4 separate regions of the Homo sapiens genome follow, and all the other regions are linked to region 4. Evidence: promoter capture Hi-C in 16 types of primary human blood cells and fetal thymus (Javierre and others, 2016). All regions are on one chromosome and are shown on one strand. Each heading gives the region's core, a stretch centred on a gene start or on the middle of the fragment in contact. The rest is flanking DNA. Distances are from core to core; before and after follow the strand shown. Region 1 overlaps MEI1 (meiotic double-stranded break formation protein 1). Region 2 overlaps MEI1 (meiotic double-stranded break formation protein 1). Region 3 overlaps CCDC134 (coiled-coil domain containing 134). Region 4 holds the start of SEPTIN3 (septin 3).

Region 1 (2,700 bases), core at 193-2,692, 230 kb before region 4:
AGGAAAGGGGAAATCAAGCCGTAACCATATGCAGTTGACTGAGAACCTGTTAGAAGGCCCAACAGATGGCTCTCAGTGCTCAACAAAGGCTCAGGGATGAGGGTCTTGCTCTGTCACCAGGCTGGAGTGCTGTGATGTGATCTTGGCTCGCTGCAACCTCCAACTCCCTGGTTCAAGCGATTCTCCTGCCTCAGCCTGCCGAGTAGCTGGGATTACAGGCACGCGCCACCATGCCCAGCTAAATTTTGTATTTTTAGTAGAGACAGGGTTTCATATCATAATGTTTTAAGAAAGTTTACAAATTTGTGTCAGGCTGCATTCAAAGTTGTCCTGGGCTGCATGCGGCCTGTGGGCTGTGGGTGGGACAAGCTTGCTTTAGAGGGGACATGGCCCTGACGACACCTCAATTTCAGATTTCTAGCCTCCAGAACTGTGAGAGGATAAACTTCTGTTGTTTTAAGCCACACAGTTTGTGGTAATTTATTATAGCAGCCCTAAGAAACCAATACCCTGTGAAATAGTCATTCATTCATTTGACATCTGTTCTATTAATCATCAACTTACAATGCATCTGTCTCTGTTTAGGTAAAGTGAAAAGATGGAACTGGTCCCTTTCCTCTTGGAAACTCACAATTAAACTAGTCAATGACTGTTGGCTCTTCTGAGTCTATAGAATCTGAGGGTTCAAATGGGCCTTAGGTGTTACCTGTCTACATTTACCCCACACTCATAATGATTGAATCTCCAAAAGTACTTTTCCAGTCTCTGCGTATAGTCTCATAGAATGGGGAATCACTTCTCCCTAGAGATGGTCCCCAATACTTCTATAGACTTTGACTCAGAAAATTCTCAGGCTGATGCTGGGCGTGGTGGCTCACGCTTGTAATTCCAGCACTTTGAGAGGCTGAGGCGGCAGATCATGAGGTCAAGAAACCCCGTCTCTACTAAAAATACAAAAATTAACTGGGTGTGGTGGCGTGCGCCTGTAGTCCCAGCTACTTGGGAGGCTGAGGCAGGAGAATCACTTAAACCCGGGAGGCAGAGGTTGCAGTGAGCTTAGATTGCGCCACTGTACCCCAGCCTGGTGACAGAGCGAGACTCCATCTCAAAAAAAAAAAAAAAAAAGAGAAAAGAAAGTTCTCAGGCTGGGTGCAGTGGCTCATGCCTGTAATCCCACACTTTGGGAAGCTGTGGTGGGTGGATAACTTGAGGTCAGGAGTTTGAAACCAGCCTGGCCAACATGGTGAAATCTCATCTCTACTAAAAGTACAAAACTTAGCTGGGTGTAGTGGTGTGCGCCTGTAGTCCCAGTTACTCAGGTGGCTGAGGCAGGAGAATTGCTTGGATCTGGGAGATGGAGGTTGCAGGGAGCCAAGATCACACCACTGCACTCCAGCCTGGGTGACAGAGTGAGACTCCATCTCTGGATCTTAGTAACATTTACCTGTTGATCCTGGTTTTCCTCGTTGAGTTAACAAAGTTTGATCCCTCTTCCCCAGAAGAGCTTATTACTTATTGGAAAACAGTAGCTGTCACTCTCTTGATGCACGTTCAATTCTAGGTAGTGCTTCTTTTACCAGCAGGCTCTCCTCTGCGAGAAAACCTTGTATCCTTAATAGTAATAATAGACACAGCTGACATTTATAAGGACTTATTACGTATTAAGCATCATGCTAAGTGTTTGGCATACATTATCGAATTTGATCCCCATAATAAGTCTATGAGGAGAGTACTATTAGCCTCATTTAATAGATGAGGAAATTGATGGTTAGAGAGGGCAAGGAATGTACAAGAAGTTGTGCAGTTAGATAAGCATTGAAGTAAGGATTTTTTTGAGACAAAGTCTTGTTCTGTCACCCAGGCTGGATTGCAGTAGTATGATCACGGCTCACTGCAGCTTCTACCTTCTTGGGCTCAGGTGATCCTCCCACCTCTGCCTCTTGAGTAACTGAAATCACAGGTGTATGCCACCACACTTGGCTAATTTTTGTGGAGACTGGGTTTCACCATGTTGCCCAGGCTGGTCTCCATCTCCTGGACTCAAGACATCTACTCATCTCAGTCTCCCAAAGTGCTGGAATTAACAGGCGTGAGCCACCATTCCTGGCCTGGAGTAAGGATTTTTATCAGATTAGATTCCATGTTCTGATCCAACTGCACTGCCTCTCATTGCCTGAGAACCTGGGGTTATCTTGGGAATACCGTTGCCTTACCGTGAACCTGCTTTTGTCTCTCTGGATGCAGGAAGGACCATCAGAGCACTCCACCTGTGCAGTATGGGGAACTGCAGGCTTTGCTAGAAGCCATGCTAAACCGATGTGCGGAGTTTTCCCAGACCTTGCTGAGCAGGAGGCCCCTGGTCAGTGTACTGCAGCCTGCTGCTTCCGAAGATCATGCTGCAGTGTGTTTTTAGAAAGATAATTAGTATATTCCCTTACTTTTGTATGCTATTTCATGACTTTTTCTCATGCACACATGGCTACAATGAGATGCTTTTTCCCTAATAGCAGAACTATGAAGCTTAAGGATTACTATTGTCATTTTTACAGATGGGGAAACTAAAGCCACGAGGGTTAAATAATTTTTCTCTAAGGTCCAAAACTATAAAGTACCTAAGCCTAGAACAGTAAATTCCAGGGTGTTTTTACCCCAGTCTATTACACACATTCTCTGTTTATATCATATAAGCAGATAGGGTAA
Region 2 (2,700 bases), core at 201-2,700, 250 kb before region 4:
GTGGCATGATCTCGGCTCACTGCAACCTCTGCCTCGTGGGTTTCAGCGATTCTCCTGCCTCAGCTTCTCAAGTAGCTGGGATTACAGGCGTGTGCCAGCATGCCCGGCTAATTTTTGTATTTTTAGTAGATGCTGGGTCTCGTCTTGTTGGCCAGGCTGGTCTCGAACTCCTGACCTTAGGTGATCCTTCTGCCTTGGCCTTCCCAAGTGCTGGGATTACAGGTGTGAGTTACTGTGCCCAGTTTGGTTTTGCCTTTAGATTAAGCATGCAGAAAGCATTTTTTGTGGGGGATTATAGGGACTTACCATTACTACCCCGTTAGGAATAATAGATTGGAGTTTCATATAGCAGTTGACATTGTGAAATTTCCCTTGGCTCCTTGGTTGTTTTCTGGACAGGCAACCTGATGGAGCATCTGTTGAGAGGCTTAGTATACCCCAGTGAGGGCATACAAGCTTCTGTCTGTTACCTTTATGGGAAGCTATACTCCTCACCAGTGGCAGCTGAGATGCTTTCAGGACACTTCCGTGAGAAGCTTTTTCCCCTCTTCCTTTCCATCCTGGATGGTGCCCAGACAAAGGAGCTGCAGATTAACTGCTTGGGTAAGACATGAGGCTGGAGAAAAAAGGGAGAATAAGTTTTTGACATTTTGCTAGAAGACTTGAGATATTGGGTTCTCTAGTAGTGGGGAAGTTTGCTGTTTTGCAAAAGGTAGAAGCCACAAGGCTTGAGAGATAAGAGACACACTGTGTGAAAGATGCCTAGAGTTGGTATGACATCTTAAGAATGTTGCCTTTGGAGGAAAATAGGAAGGAAAGTGGGACAGCAATTTTTTCTGCCTTTACTGCCTGCCCTGGTGCATCCTGTATTTGCTGGCAAGTTAATCTTTACATTGTATAGCTCACGTCCTGTCACTTTCTTAAGTCAGAAATTCTTCCATGGTTCCCTCTGGCCTCCAGGGTAAAGCCTAGGTGTCTTAGTGCATTTTATGCTGCTATAACAGGATACCACAGACTAGGTGATTTATAATGAAAAACTTATTGGTTCAGAAATTTATTGGTTTGTAGTTCTGGAGCCTAGGAAGTCCAAGATCAAGAGGCTGGCAGTTGGTGAAACCCCTCTTGCTCTGTCATCCCATGGTGGAAGGGCAAAGAGAGGGCAAGAGAAAAAGCTAGAGGGGACTGAACTTGTCCTTTTTTTTCTTTTTTCTTTTTTTTTGAGACAGAGCCTTGCTCTGTTGCCCAGCTTGAGTCCAGTGGTGCTTTCTCAGCTCACTGCAACCTCTACCTCCCCGGTTCAAGTGATTCTTTTTTTTTTTTTTTTTTTTTGAGACAGAGTCTCACACTGTTGCCCAGGCCGGACTGCAGTGGCGCAATCTTGGCTCACTGCAAGCTCCGCCTCCCGGGTTCACACCATTCTCCTGCCTCAGCCTCCCGAGTAGCTGGGACTACAGGCGCCTGCCACCATGCCCAGCTAATTTTTTGTATTTTTAGGAGAGACGGGGTTTCACCGTGTTAGACAGGATGGTCTCGATCTCCTGACCTCGTGATCCACCCGCCTTGGCTCCCAAAGTGCTGGGATTACAGGCGTGAGCCACCGCGCCCGGCCGGTTCAAGTGATTCTTATGCCTCAGCCTCCTGAGTAGCTGGCATTACAGGCACCCACCATCACATCCGGCCAAGTTTTATATTTTTAGTGGAAACGGGGTTTCACCATGTTGCCCAGGCTGGTCTCGAACTCCTGATTTCAGGTGATCTGCCCACCTTGCCCTCCCCAAGTGCTGGGATTAAAGGCGCAAGCCACTGTGCCTGGCCTGAACTTGTCCTTTTATGAGGAGCCTACTCTCATGATAACAAACCCACTCCCATGGTGATGGCATTAATTCATTCATGAGGGTCCAAACCCAAACCCCAAACTCATGACCCAAACACCACCCGTAGGTCCCAGCTCCTGATACCGCTGCATTGGGGATTCAGTTTCCAACACATGAACTTTGGGGAACACATTCAAACCATGGCACTAGGTTTCTCTGCTTGTTACTTGAGGCTCTTTAGAAGCCCCAACATACCCTTTTAACGTCCTCTCCTGCTATTTTTTTACATAAATACATAAGGTCTATCAACTGTTCTAAGCAGGGAGATTTCTTATTTTGGGCAGAACAGATGGGCACTGTAATTGGTGCCTGGTTGAGGGCCTGTTCTCAGGTAGAAGCTGTAGAGAAAAGCATAGTCTATTGGTGACAGCAGCTTCTTTTCAAAATTTGGATCAGGAGCTCTGTTATGAATGACCTAGCCATACATAGTGAGCATTCGTTCTATAGCTGGCCCTGTGCTGGGCTCTGAGGTCACAGAGATGATCAAATCCAAGCTTTATCTTAGGGGAGCTCACAGGCCAGTGTAGAAGACACACATGGACAACTAGAGTCTAGTGTGATGAGTGCCATCTTGGAGGTGCACAGCAGAGGGTAGGAGCAGGGGACAGGAGAAGCTTCCTAAAGGAAAGGATGCCTGGACTGAGTCCTAAATTGGGGGGGAGAGGAGGAAGGCAGAAACACGGGCCAGAGCACGAGGTATGAAGCAGCCTGTATCTGCGGTAACTTGCAGCAGGGCAGTGTTGGAGTTAGTGCATATAGAACAAAAGGGTGCAAATACAGGCCCTAGGGTGAGGCCCTTGGCAGTCCTACAGCTCACCTAACCACA
Region 3 (2,700 bases), core at 9-2,508, 140 kb before region 4:
ACCCCGCTGGTGGCCTAGCTCAGAGCAGGCTCTTTGCTGCCACAGACTAAATCAGACTGCTCTTCTCTTCCCTTCAGTTCATTCCCAGCACTGACCCTTTCCAGAAGGCCCTGAGAGAAGAAGAGAAACGCCGAAAGAAAGAGGAGAAGCGGAAGGAGATCCGAAAAGGCCCAAGGATCTCCAGATCCCAGTCTGAGTTATAGCCCTGGAGCAGCTCAGGGCTCAGGGGGCCACAAGGAGGCAGGTCGGGAGGAAGAAGAGGTGGAGGTGTGGTTGTGGTGGAGAGCACCAGCTAGCCCCTTCCAGAAGGGGAGGCCACATTTGCCCGGCCCCCTGGAGCTGGGTCTGAGCCCCAGCTGAAGGGACTGAGCCTCAGATGGCTGGATTTTCTCTCAGGGGCCTCCTGCTGAAGGGGCCTTCAGAGGATTTTATGCTGGAAATATGACCCTGTGCAGACTGCTGGGGGAGGCAGGAGGATGCCTGCCTGGACCCTGTTGGTGGCTGAAGACCTCTGGCCAGCTGGCTTCCGCCCTTGGTGGGGAAGCAGCAGAACTAGGTTCTGAGCCACGGGTCAGGGTGCCACCCTGCTGCTGGCCCCACTGTGTCACAGAGCTGCCTGGCACAGGTCCCAGCCCCTCTGCAGAGACACAATAAAAGCCAGCAGACCCTTTGGACCGACCAAGGCTGGTGGGGACACTGTGAGGGGACCAGGGCCCCTCAGGGATGTAGAAACAGCTTGGAGGATGCCTCTGCCCCACCAGGAGGGGCCCCAGGCCCTGGCAGGGCAGAGAAGGAAGGGGCTTGGCTTGGGCCTCCTGGTCCTACGCCATCACTGCCCTTGACAAATGATTGGTGTTGGGAAAGGACCTGGAAGTGCCCTGGGACCTGGGAAACATTTAGCTCAAGAAGACCTTGGAGCAACATGATCCCTGTCCTCAGATGTCTGGGGACAGTCATTGAGCAAGCACAGGGAAGTCAGCTTGTTCTCTCTGGCAGCGCTGGAAGACAGTCAACCTGTGGGTGGGGGGCTGCAGGGGGACAGGCCGCAGCCCTGCAGGAGGCCGTGCTCCGCAATGGCTGCCCTAAGCTGCATGGGTCAGACAGCTTCCCGTCTCGGGAGGCCACAGGGCAGGGAAGCTGCAGAGGGCATGTGGCCCTGGGTAGGGCAGCTGCCCTTCACTCATGCCCCTCCCAAGCAGAGGAGGGAAGGGCTTTAGTGAGAATTCTAGCTCTGCCTCTTTGACCTTGCCAAGTCAGGATCTGCCTCTTAAAGGAGCAGAGAAAACCATCCCAGATCCCCTCGACACCCAGCCCCCTACCACTGACAGAGCACAAGTGAGATCTGAGTGTTAGCCCTTCAGATTTGCTGACTGGCCTTGGCCCACCCCTCCCTGTGCTGCAGCTTCATTGGCAAAATGAATTTGATGGTATCTGTATCCCCTGCCCAGCCCTAACCTGTTTCTCTGAGGCTGGCCTCCCTACGGGGCTGCAGCAGCAAAGGGAAGCCAAGCCTTAGAGAAGCCTCATGGAAGGGCCCAGAACATCCTGCACCCATCAGTTACTCGGAAGTAAGGGGACAAGAAGCAGCTGGAAGAGAGCTGGGTGTGGGGGCTGGGAGGAGTGCTGGAGAAATTTCCCCATCAGAAGGCCCCTCACTGGGCAGTGGAGGCAGGGCAGTGTGGTGGGACTGACTCAACAGACATAGTTTCATCTCCACCCTGCCCTTCTCAGGTTGTGTGACCCCAGCCACATGGACACCCGAGTCTGTGAACTAAAGGGCTGGTCCATGGCATTAACAGTGGAGGGTGTCCAGGTTCTTGATGTCTTGAACAAAGAATTGGGCAAAATGCACAAAGCAAGGAAGGAATGAAGGGTTTTACTGAGAATGAAAGTATACTCCACAGCATGGGAGAGGGCCTGAGCATAGGGACTCAAGGGGCCCGTTACAGAATTTTTGGGAGTAAATACCCACTAGAGGATTCCATTGGTTACTTGAGGTACACCCTATGTAAATGGAAAGGATGAAGTAAATTTACAAATTCATTTACAGCATATACCCTATGGGGAGGATATTCCCTGTTATAGCTGAAGCGTGAATTGGCCTTATGTTCCCTGCCTCCAGACCCTATTTTCCTGCATCAACGGGAAAGGGTCAGATTCACTGGCTCAGCTGTTTAACCTGTCCTGGTGCCAGCAGCTGGAGCTGGGTGTCAGGACCAGCCCGCAAGCTCTTCCCTGCCGGAAGGACCAGGCCAGTCGCTGTCCTTTTCATGCTAGAGAGTGGTTGTGGTTGCTGACTTAGCAGAGAAGGTGCTTGGCTTTCCCCTTAACTGGAGAAAAAACTTTCTAAGAACCAGGCCTGGTTGGCAGCAGACCTAGCTTTCTTGGGGTGGCAGGGAGGCTAAAGCATACCTCAGGACAGTCAGTGGTGGGTCCAGCTTCGGCTGGAGGTTCTTTCTACTGAATAACTTCTACGGGCTCTGTCATTAGCAGGATTTGTATAATTTGAAGCAGAGCTGGGCAACTGCAGAGCAATGGGGAAGCCAGCCCAGTGTGGTGGCAAGACCTGGGCAACTTGGGACCAGCCTGGGCTGTCTCTTGCCAGCTGTTGTTATCAGAACCAGGCTCTTCACACTCAGATCCTTGGGCCCCCCATCTCAGAATGCCCAGTGGTTGAAAGGATGAAACCTGGAATTTAAG
Region 4 (2,700 bases), core at 9-2,508:
GCCTGTGGTCCCAGCTACTCTGGAGGCAGAAGTGGGAGGATCACTTGTGCCCAAGAGGCTGCAGTGAGCCATGATGGCGCCACTGTCTTCCAGCCTGGGCGACAGAGTGAAACCCTGTTCAAAAAAACTAATAACAACAACAGCAACAACAAACGAAACAGAGCTGAGCTAATATGGTAGCCACAGATTAAAATAAACTAAAAAATCCAGTTCCTTGGTCACTGTAGACACATTTTAAGTGATCGGTAGCCATCTGTGGCTAGTGGCTACTGTACTGGACAGCACAGACATAGAACATTTCCATTATCACTGAAAGTTGTATTGCCCAGCGCAGCTCCAGAAGCTCACTCGCTAAAGAGAGAGACACACAGGAGAGCAGACCAGACAACACAGTGTTGTGTGGGCTGCAATGTCCTCCTCGGTAAAAAGCAGGTGATGAGGCGGAGATTAAAGGAGATGCCAGGAGAATGCTTAGCCTAGTTCCTGACTCAGGGTGAGTGCTCGGAGGACATCTGCCATCACCGTACAGGACAGTACTATAGGATCTGTTTACATACCTATCTTCCTAGCAGACTGTGAGCTCCGCCCAGCCCTGGCATGGTGCCGGGCACAGAGCAAGTGCTCAGGAAATAGTAGCTGTTATCAGCACCATTGTTATTATCACCACTGCTATGACAGAGGCAGCCGAGGGCTGTGGGAACACAGAAGAGGGCTCCCATCCCAGCCCCAGGGCCAGGGGCTGCTGAGAGTCGGCATTGCCAGAGCCAGGCTGGGTGGCTTTGTGGTCCCCTCAGGGGCAGGCCTAGGGCGGGGTCCTCTTCACACCCTTAGGGTCTGGGTACAGGGTCCAGCTGGAGCAAGCTGGGGCTCAGGGAATAGTTGTGGAAGGAGCTCTAGCCTCCAGGAACTCCAGCCCCCTTGAGGAAAGACCAGGTGAGTGGGCAAGATGGTCTGAGGGTTGCAGAGCTGAACAGGGCATGAAGGGCACAGAGGCAGAGCCAGAGGGAGACTCGCGCTGGGACTACCAGAGTGCAGCCATATTTGGAGTACCCCTGTTTTTACTGCAGACTCCCCAGGCATCAAAGTCTGTGGGAGACAGAGCAGATTTGGGGAGGGCAGGCTGCAGGGAACCTCCCTGCAGGTGGCCGTGAGTGCCAGCCTGGCCGTTACCAGCCTCCCATGGCTCTTCAGGATTCCAGAGGCTCAGAGCAGCCATTCACAGCCGCCCACTCCTAGGAAGCCAGCCCCTCCCTGCACCAGAGCCCAGCCCAGCACGGTCTCCGGGGATGTAGCTGGTGGGACAGTGAGCAGAGGGCTGGGCCCTGTGCCTGGGGACTGTGGCCTGGAGGCTGAGCAGGAGCTGAGGAGGGGACCAGAGGGACAAGGCCCCTAAGCTGGCCACCATGGCCAGACTCTGAGTGCAGGGGAGGTGAGGGGCCTGCGTGTGCCTTATCTTCCCAGACACACTGGATCCTTCTTGTCCTCTGATCAAGGTAGGTGTGTAGGGGGGTGGAAGGGTGTGGGGGTTTGTGGGGGTGGGAGGGTGGTGGGGGTGGGGTGGGGAAGGACCAAGCAATCCATGGAAGATGGGAGTGCAGTGAGGGGATGGGGAGTCGGGTGATGCCCTCGGACACCCTGTCCTCTGGCCTGCTCTGTGTGTGGGTGTGCACACTGAGGGGAGCTGTTTGTGGCTAAGTGCAGGGTAAACGTGTGTGCCCAAGTGGATGTGGCTGTGCAGGAGGGGGCAGAAGTTCAGGGCTGCAGTGATAGGCCAGGTGGGAAAGGGTTGGAGGCCAGGACAGTCTTGGATACAAATATATGGCTGGAGAGGGATGAGGGGCTGGGGGCACCATTGTGAGGGGTGATGCCTTCCCTGTCCGGTGCCCTGCCTTCCCCGTCCCTGCTGCAGACCTCAAGGACCTGGCTACATGATCACTCCCCTCCCCATGAGCCCTCTGGAACTGACTCCTCCCACCAGCCCTGGCCTTGTCCCCCAGCTGCAGGTCCCAGCCTGCTGTGTTAAAAGCAACCAAACCAACTTTTTTCTAGAGGGTGAGTTACTTGGAGTCCAGAGTAGCAGGGAGTGGCCCATCTACTAAGACCACAGCCAGAGTCCTGAGCTTCATCCTCGACACCTCTTTGTGCCCACTCCCTACCCTGGGCAGTCCCGCCACTTCTACCCCTGTGCAATGCAGCCTCCTCCAGCCCCAGCCCTAGCTCTGCCCCTTGCACAGCCCACGGAGCAGAGAGTTTCAACTATGTCCTCATGGGATCCTGGCTTCAATTCTGTTCCCATCTGATCCCTCTGTCACACTGCCCGAGTGGCCGTTCCCACCTACAGATCGGAATGGGTCACATTCCCTGGCCTAAACTTTGCTGTAGCCTGGCCTGGACCCCAGCTCACCTGCAGCCTTGGCTCTCCCCTCCCTGCTACATACAGCCTAGGAGCCCCATGTTGGATTTTCAGAAAGATGCCACACTTTCTCACCTTTGGGCCTTCTGTAGGAACAGCCCCAGCTCAGGTCTAGCCTCCCGCCTTTCTACCCCTAATGCTTAGCTTGGTGGAGCCCTGCCTACTTCCTTGCCTGGCATCCCTGGGCATGGCAGCCTCTTCAAGGGCGGGGACCATGGCTTGTTCACCAGATAAGCTCCTTCTGTGAACACTCACTGCCTCTCCATTTCCCATCCTCACCTTCTCCA

What was found. Contacts are between HindIII fragments. The CHiCAGO score rates a contact against its expected background, and 5 or more counts as called.
Region 1: a contact is called between a fragment that was not itself captured here and the fragment with the promoter of SEPTIN3 in region 4, in 5 of 17 cell types (activated CD4 T cells, non-activated CD4 T cells, total CD4 T cells and 2 more). The highest score is 6.7, in activated CD4 T cells.
Region 2: a fragment that was not itself captured here is called in contact with the fragment with the promoter of SEPTIN3 in region 4 in 4 of 17 cell types (naive B cells, naive CD8 T cells, total CD8 T cells and 1 more); the score reaches 7.3 in naive B cells.
Region 3: a contact is called between a fragment that was not itself captured here and the fragment with the promoter of SEPTIN3 in region 4, in 1 of 17 cell types (naive B cells). The highest score is 6.1, in naive B cells.

The regions. Positions count from the first base shown.
Region 1 is chr22:41,740,836-41,743,535 of GRCh38, forward strand. It overlaps MEI1 (meiotic double-stranded break formation protein 1), which reads left to right. Exons shown (of 31, transcript NM_152513.4): 12 at 2,245-2,359. Among named protein-coding and RNA genes, the nearest start is that of MEI1, 43 kb to the left of the region's middle. The HindIII fragment of the contact is 2,151 bases long and covers 368-2,518 here.
Region 2 is chr22:41,717,672-41,720,371 of GRCh38, forward strand. MEI1 (meiotic double-stranded break formation protein 1) reads left to right here. Exons shown (of 31, transcript NM_152513.4): 6 at 400-603. Among named protein-coding and RNA genes, the nearest start is that of MEI1, 20 kb to the left of the region's middle. The HindIII fragment of the contact is 1,832 bases long and covers 535-2,366 here.
Region 3 is chr22:41,825,621-41,828,320 of GRCh38, forward strand. CCDC134 (coiled-coil domain containing 134) reads left to right here. Exons shown (of 7, transcript NM_024821.5): 7 at 78-2,700. The coding sequence ends at 203. SREBF2-AS1 (SREBF2 antisense RNA 1) reads right to left here. Exons shown (of 2, transcript NR_157279.2): 2 at 1,861-2,700. Among named protein-coding and RNA genes, the nearest start is that of SREBF2, 6.1 kb to the right of the region's middle. RefSeq lists an enhancer at 509-1,015. The HindIII fragment of the contact is 9,332 bases long and covers 1-2,700 here.
Region 4 is chr22:41,968,185-41,970,884 of GRCh38, forward strand. SEPTIN3 (septin 3) reads left to right here and starts at 1,259. Exons shown (of 12, transcript NM_001363845.2): 1 at 1,259-1,493. The HindIII fragment of the contact is 14,934 bases long and covers 1-2,700 here.